Regions from separate parts of the Homo sapiens genome. Here region 1 is linked to region 2. Evidence: promoter capture Hi-C in 16 types of primary human blood cells and fetal thymus (Javierre and others, 2016). All regions are on one chromosome and are shown on one strand. Each heading gives the region's core, a stretch centred on a gene start or on the middle of the fragment in contact. The rest is flanking DNA. Distances are from core to core; before and after follow the strand shown. Region 1 overlaps DZIP1L (DAZ interacting zinc finger protein 1 like). Region 2 holds the start of MRAS (muscle RAS oncogene homolog).

Evidence for each region. Contacts are between HindIII fragments. The CHiCAGO score rates a contact against its expected background, and 5 or more counts as called.
Region 1: a fragment that was not itself captured here is called in contact with the fragment with the promoter of MRAS in region 2 in 1 of 17 cell types (monocytes); the score reaches 5.4 in monocytes.

The regions. Positions count from the first base shown.
Region 1 is chr3:138,071,041-138,074,506 of GRCh38, reverse strand. It overlaps DZIP1L (DAZ interacting zinc finger protein 1 like), which reads left to right. Exons shown (of 16, transcript NM_173543.3): 12 at 2,672-2,864. Among named protein-coding and RNA genes, the nearest start is that of DZIP1L, 43 kb to the left of the region's middle. RefSeq lists an enhancer at 3,279-3,466. The HindIII fragment of the contact is 2,326 bases long and covers 459-2,784 here.
Region 2 is chr3:138,346,102-138,349,860 of GRCh38, reverse strand. MRAS (muscle RAS oncogene homolog) reads right to left here and starts at 1,282. Exons shown (of 6, transcript NM_001085049.3): 1 at 1,094-1,282. RefSeq lists an enhancer at 815-1,770. The HindIII fragment of the contact is 4,446 bases long and covers 1-3,759 here.

The DNA.
Region 1 (3,466 bases), core at 372-2,871, 280 kb after region 2:
TTTGTTTGTCTGGAAAAGACTGTATCTTTCTTTCATTTATGAAGCTTAGTTTCACTGGATACAAAATTCTTGGCTGATAATTGTTTTGTTTAAGGAAGCTAAAGAATAGGACCCCAATCCCTTCTAGCTTGTAGGGTTTCTGCTGAGAAATCTGCTGTTAATCTGAGAGGTGTTCCTTTATAGGTTACCTGGTGCTTTTGCCTCACAGCTCTTATGATTCTTTCCTTCATCTTGACTTTAGATAACCGGTTGACTATGTGCTTAGGTGATGATCTTTTTGCAATGAATTTCTCAGGTGTTCTTTGAGCTTCTTGTATTTGGATGCCTAGGTCTCTAGTAAGGCTGGGGAAGTTTTCCTCAATTATTCCCTCGAAGATGTTTTCAAGCTTTTAGATTTCTCTTCTTCCTTGGGAATAACAATTATTCTTAGGTTTGGATGTTTAACATGGTCCCAAGCTTCTTGGAGACTTTGTTCATTTTTTTAAAATTCTTTTTTGTCTTCTATGGATTGTGTTAATTCGAAAGCCTTGTCTTTGAGCTCTGAAGTTCTTTCTTCTGCTTGTTTGATTCTATTGCTGAGACTTTTCAGTGTATTTTGCATTTCTCTAAGTGTGTTTTTGATTTCCAGAAGTTGTGATAACTTTTTATTTATGCTATTTCACTAAAAAATTTTCCTTTCATCTCTTGTATAACATTTTTTGTTTCTTTAAGGTGGGCTTCACCTTTCTTTGGTCCCTCCTTGATTAGCTTAATAATTGACCTTCTGAATTCTTTTTCTGGCAATTCAGAGATTCGTCTTGGTTTGGATCCATTGCTGGTGAGCTGGTATGATTTTTGTGGGTGTTAAAGAACCTTGTCTTGTCATATTACCAGAATTGTTTTTCTGGCTCCTTCTCATTTGGGTAGACTATGTTAGAGGGAAGATCTGGGATTCAAGAGCTGCTGTTCAGATGCTTCTGTCCCATGGGGTGCTCCCTTGATGTAGTGCTCTCCCCCTTCCCCTAGGAATGGGGCTTCCTGAGAGCTGAACTGTAGTGATTGTTTTTGATCTTCTGGGTCTAGCCACCCAGTAGAGTTACAGGCTGGTACTGGGGAGTGTCTGCAAAGAGTCCTGTGATGTGATCCATCTTCAGGTCTTGCAGCCGTGGATACTATTCCAGCACCTGCTCCAGTGGAGGTAGTAGGGGAGTGAAGTGGACTCTTGAGGGTCCTTGTTTTTTCTTTTTGTTTGTTTAGTGCATTGGTTTTGTGTTTGTTGGCCTCCAGCTAGGAGGTGGTGCTTTCAAACTGTGGTCCTATAGGGAGGATGCATACTTCCCTACTTGCCCTAGGGACACCTGGTTAAGTATTCAGGTTTCTCAGGCGGTGGGCAGGGCCATACAGCTCCTAAGGGATTATGACCTTTGTCTTCAGCTACCAGGGCGGGTGCAGGAAGACCACCAGGTGGGGCCAGGGATAGACGTGTCTGAGCTCAGCCTCTCCTTGGGTGTGGCTTGCTGCAGCTACTGTTGGGGATGAGGGTGTGTTCCCAGTCCAATGGAGTTATATTCCCAGGGGGATTATGGCTGCCTCTGCTGAGTCATACAGGTCGCCAGGGAAGTGGGGGAAATCTGGCAGTCACAGGCCTCAGCCCATCTCCACGCAGCCTGCGGTCCTAAAGTCCGGTCTCACTCGCACTGTGCCCCACCAACAGGAGCAAGTCTATTTCCAAGCAGCCAGTGACCAGGGCTGGGAACTTGCCCCAGACCACAAACCTCCCCATTGAGAAAGCAAGCAGACTCAGGTTTTCGGCATCTCAGGGAGTCTGCAGCAGTGATCCAGTTCCTTTACAGGGTCTATGGATTCTCTCTCCAACTAGTATTTGAATGCCATTGTGCTTAACCAGAACACGTATGTTATTATTAGAAGCACCAATGAAATCTATTATTAAATAAAAACACACCTATTATTAAATTAGCCAAGCATTACACTATTGGAATGCTGTTTGTGTAGAGTAAGTTAGAAAAAAAAAATAGACAACTAGGGTTATTTTAGGAAGAATGGTCACTACTTTGATTGTTTTCAACTACTGACTACTCTAACTTTGGCCCTATATTCAGATTTGATTAAGACATTCCTTTCTAACCTTGCATGAATCCTCATCTTGGATTCAGATGCCTCCCTGGACCCTCCCATGGGCTCTGGGTGGATGTCAAAAGCTCGAGCAACTTCCAATAGGTCTTGAAAGGGTACTTGGATTGTGTTTACAGCAGTTTAGTTTTTTAAACATTGTTAGCCATGGACAGTGTGTTTGGCATAATAATAGTAATTGGGAGTACAAAAATGAGCAAGCTGTGGTCTCTTATCCTAGGATTCAGTCAGATGGTAGAAAAGCATGTTCCAACGAAGTCCCTTATGCTATGATGTGGTCAGAATTGTGACGCAGTCCTTTGCATTATCCTGCTGTGCACATTTTGATGGGGCTCCCAAACCCTGAACCATTGCACTTTCAGCAACTTTGAAGCCGCTGCTTACCCTTCTCTGATCCTCATTTCATGCCCCCCAGTCCTGCAAGAAAAGCACCAGGCACTGATCACAGACTCCCAGGCCAGCAGCAGCAGGTGTGAGAGGCTTAGGGGAAGGAGAAGAAGGGTAGCCTCTCTCTGTAAAGGTGAACTCCTGTCTCCTCTAGGATGCAAAGGGAATCTCGATTCAGACTCTCAGACACCTGGAATCCCTGCTGAGAGTCCAGCGGGAGCAGAAGGCCCGGAAGTTTTCTGAATTTCTGAGTCTGAGGGGAAAGCTTGTCAAGGAAGTCACCAGCAGAGCGAAGGAGAGACAGGAGAATGGCGCTGTGGTGTCCCAGCCAGACGGGCAGCCTTCAGGTACACTGGGGAGAGGGCTTGCTCAGGGCTGTGACCTGTAAGGGTCCCATTCTTGCCAAAACTTGTTTGCACATGAGGAGGGTATAGTCTCTGTCCCCCATTAGGGGCACTTCTCTGAAGGGCTGAGCTGGTAGGGTCCTTACAGGGGACTGAGTCCAGAAGTTCTCTGTTGAGGAAATAGGATCTGGGGTGGAGTGGGGGCATTTGTCCAGGGTCACTCGGGGAAGTTGGAGGAGAGCCGGAGCTGGAGCCTGTTGTCAGCCTGAACTGTCCCTGTGCAGACATGCTGCCTCCCTTAGCACCTTCATTCTGTTTGGCTTGTTGCGACCACAGTTGAGTGTCTCTTCAACAGAGAGCAGCCTATTCAGTTTCTGGCTCTACACACCAGGCATGCCAGCCTGGGGAGGCAGGCAGAGGCCCGGGAGCATTGAAGCTGCAGGTGGAGGCAAATATCAATTGAATGTAAACTTCTGCAGAGCTCAGATAGCCCCTGCTCTGGCCATGGGAGAGCATGAGAGACTGGGCCAGTTCTGCACGCAGATGAATTCTCAGAGCTCATAGTTGGTTCCTTGGGCCAGGTCATAGCTGCCACTTTACCATTT
Region 2 (3,759 bases), core at 33-2,532:
ATCCACTTCAAGTGCCTGGTCTTTGGAAGCCCTGTTGGTTGCTGTTATTACAGTGGAGTTTCAGAGCTCTTAAAGTCATATCTCCATCTTACTTCTGCTGCCAGACAAACCTCTGGAGGCCACGATTCCGAGCCTTGTCAGCCACCCTCTCTGGTCAGGTCCAGGACAGAGTGAGTCCTAGAGGAGCAAGGCCAGGGAGGTTCCACACCATCAGGGGCCATTGGGGAGTAGGGGCAATGGCAGAGCTCTATGATCAAGGCCCCAGTGGCCTTGATGGACTCTGTCCACCTCTCCAGACTCCACTTTGCCCCAGGCCAGAACAGACCTCAGCTCTAGCCAGAGTCTAACTGGGTGTCCAGTGTATACGCTGCGGCCAGCCAGACATTAACTCCTCTAGGCGGCCTTCTCTCACCTCCCACTCTGCAGTAGGGACCCCTAGGGGCTCCCACAACCCCTGGGCTTACCGAATCTCAGCACTTACCACACTGGCTTGTCACTTTGTGCTCTTGTCTTCCCCGCAGGGCAGGACTGGCACCGTGTCTGATGCCTCAGCCAGATCAGTTCAATGCATGAGCCCAGGCCCTAGTTGTGACCACAGCTCCAGCTCCCCAAACCTCCGGGGGCAGTGAAGGGTTGTTTATGAAGCAGGCTGCGTTTTATTATTCAGATGAATTTGTCAACTCCCTGGCGGATCCCTCCCCTCGTTAACGCCATCTTAAGGCGGGGGGGTAAAGAGTCCCCCACCCACCCACCCATCCCCCGCCGCCCCGTCCTGCCGCCCATCTATCCACCGGGTTCTCGCCCAGGCAGCCAAGGAACTGTAATTACCATGAAAGGGTCTCTCTGAGCGGCGCGCAGGCCCTCCCCACTGGGGTCTTGGTCGTGGCCGATTTCACGAACGCACACCGTTACGCGGGAGCCCGCGATGGGGGCAAAACGCCACGCACAGCCGGTCCCAGGGCGCACCCCGCAAGCGGAGAGCGCGGCCGAGCCCGGAGGGCGGCCACACCTCCCGCCCCGGAACAAAGCGACGGCCGGGGCGAGAGGCGGCGCGGCCGGGCCCCCTCCCCTCCAAGGCCGCCCGACCACTCACCGCGCGCTCCAGCCCCGGCTCGGCTACGGCACTCAGGCCGCCCCCTCCTAGCCTGCGCCGGTGAGGAGGCAGCGTCGCGCCCGCCGGGCCCCGCGGCCGCCGGACTGACGGCTCCCCGCCAGCCGGCCACTCCGGTCCGTCCCCGCCCCGGCGCCTCCTTAAAGCGACCGCGCCGCCAGCGTGCGCCCCGAGCGCCTAGCGCGCCGCGCATTCCTTATATTGCCACAGCGCCTGCTAAAAATAGAGCGCCGCTGCGGGCGCGCCAGTGGGGAGCCCGGGCCGGGTGCCTCGACCCTGTCGCCCCCGCGTGCACCCCGGCCCCCAGGACGCGCGCCTACGAAGTCCAGCCCACCCGCGCCGAGTCCCCTGGGCCCGGCAGGGCGCGCTAGAGCGCCAGGGGCTGGGGTCGGCGCCGCAGCCTCTCCCGCGGCCCAGCACTTACCCGGGTCAGATCCGTGGTGCCGGGGAGCTGGCTTTAAGGTGGACGCCGAGTGGGAATTCGACTCGGCCTCTTTAAGAGCCTCTGCGCTCCAACCTTTAAATCTCCGCTCCGGCCGGGCCAACTTCTGAGCCTAGGGACGCCTCCCCAGTCCTAGGCGAACCTCCGCCGCCACCTTAGCTGCATTCCCTTCGAATCCTGAGACGTCTTTCTTCCAGATCATGCCCCAGCGTCTCTCCCCGCAGGCCTTCTGGGTGCACCGTTCCAGGGCCCAAACTTCGTTGGGATGGATGCGACGGGGACAGGCGACACTCGCGCACCATTTCATTGTTTCAGTTCCGCTAACTCCTCTCCAGCGGCGTCATTTTCCCCCCGTTAAAAAAATAAAGATATAATTCAACACCATAAAATTCCACCTTTTGAAGTGTACAATTCAAGCCGGGCGCGGTGGCTCACGCCTGTAATCCTAACACTTTGGGAGGCCGAGGCGGGTGAATCGCCTGAGGTCAGGAGTTCAAGACCAGCCTAGGCAACATGGTGAAACCCCGTCTCTACTAAAAATACAAAAGTCAACCCGGCATGGCGGCACGTGCCTGTGATCTCATCTACTCGGGAGGCTGAGGCAGGAGAATCACGTGAACCCGGGAGGCAGAGGTTGTAGTGAGCCGAGATTGCGCTACTGCACTCTAGCCTGGGCAACAGAGTGAGACGCTGTCTCAAAAAAAAAAAAGTGTACGATTCAGTGGTGTTTAGCATATTCACAAAGTTTTGCAACCATCACCATGAGCTAATTCCAGAACATTTTCACCACTTCCCACTCCCCTCCCCTGCCCCTCACAAAAAGAACTACCCGTTAGCAGTCACTCCTCATTCACCCCTTTCCTCCGCCTCTGGGAACCACTAATCTACTTTCAATCTCTATGGATTTCCCTATTCAGGACATTTTCTATAAACGGAATCATACAACATGTGGCCTTTTGTGACTATGACTAGCTTCTTTCAGTAACCAATGTTTAATGATCTATTCATGTTGTAACATGTAGCAGTACTTCATTCCTTTTCATGACTGAGTAATATTTCACTGTATGTCTATACGTTTTGTTTATCCCTGCATCACTTGATGGATATTTAGTTTTCTGCTTTGGGGCTACTGTGAATAAAGCTGCTATGAATATTCATGTACAAGTCTTTGTATGAACATATGCTTTTCTTTCTCTTGGGTATATACCTAAGAGTGGAATTCCTGGATCATATGTTAACTCCATGTTTAACTTTTGGGGGAACTGCCAAACTGTTTTCCAAAGCAGCTGCACCATTTTACATTCCCACCAACAACATATGAGGGTTCCAATATCTCCACATCTTTGCAAACACTTGTAATTGTGTGTCTTTTTTTATTCTAGTCATCCTATTGGGGGCGAAATGGCATTTCATTGTGGTTTTGATTGTCAGCATCATTTCTGAGGACATTCTTTTTCTGGGTGGACCTCAATGACTTAGAACCAGCTTTACATGTCCAGGGAACCCACTCCCTTCTCAGGTTTGCCCCAGGCCTAAGGGAGCCTCACAGTGCTGCTGGCTCTGCCTGCCATGCTGAGGCTCTTAATCCCATGCAGGCTTCCTTTGGCATCCCAGCCACCCATGCAGCCATTTGGTGGGAGCTGCTGTGCACCCCCTGTGCCTCCACTCCCACCTGCTGCTCCAAAGACCCTGTAGACCCCAAGTGTCCCCCAGGAAGGGGACAGCAGGTTGGGTGCCATCAAGAGTATCTCTCCTTGGCAGTAGGGAGTAAAAGACCTGGTTGGGGAGAAGGCTTGAGGGACAGTAGTTTACCTCGACTGTCTAGGTTTGCCCTGGAACCTGACTCCCTCAACCCCCTCTATTTACCACAGAACTTGGGAAGGCGGGCAGGGATCTGTACATCCTGGTGGCCTGTCAGCCCCTCGTGGGCTCCCCATGTAAGAGATGTCCTCTCTTGGGCCCTGACTGGCACAAGACCCTGACCATGCCCTCAGCTTGAGCTGAGCCAACATCTATGCAAGAGTCAAAGAGATGTCTTTATACTGCTTTTATACACATATCTGTAATAATACCTCTTCTCAGAAATGGAACTTAAACAGCTAATAGTCATACCCAGGTACCTGGGATTCTCCTTTTTTTTTTTTTTTTTTTTTTTTTTTTTTGAGACAGAGTCTCGCTCTGTCACCCAGGCTATAATGCAGTCGCA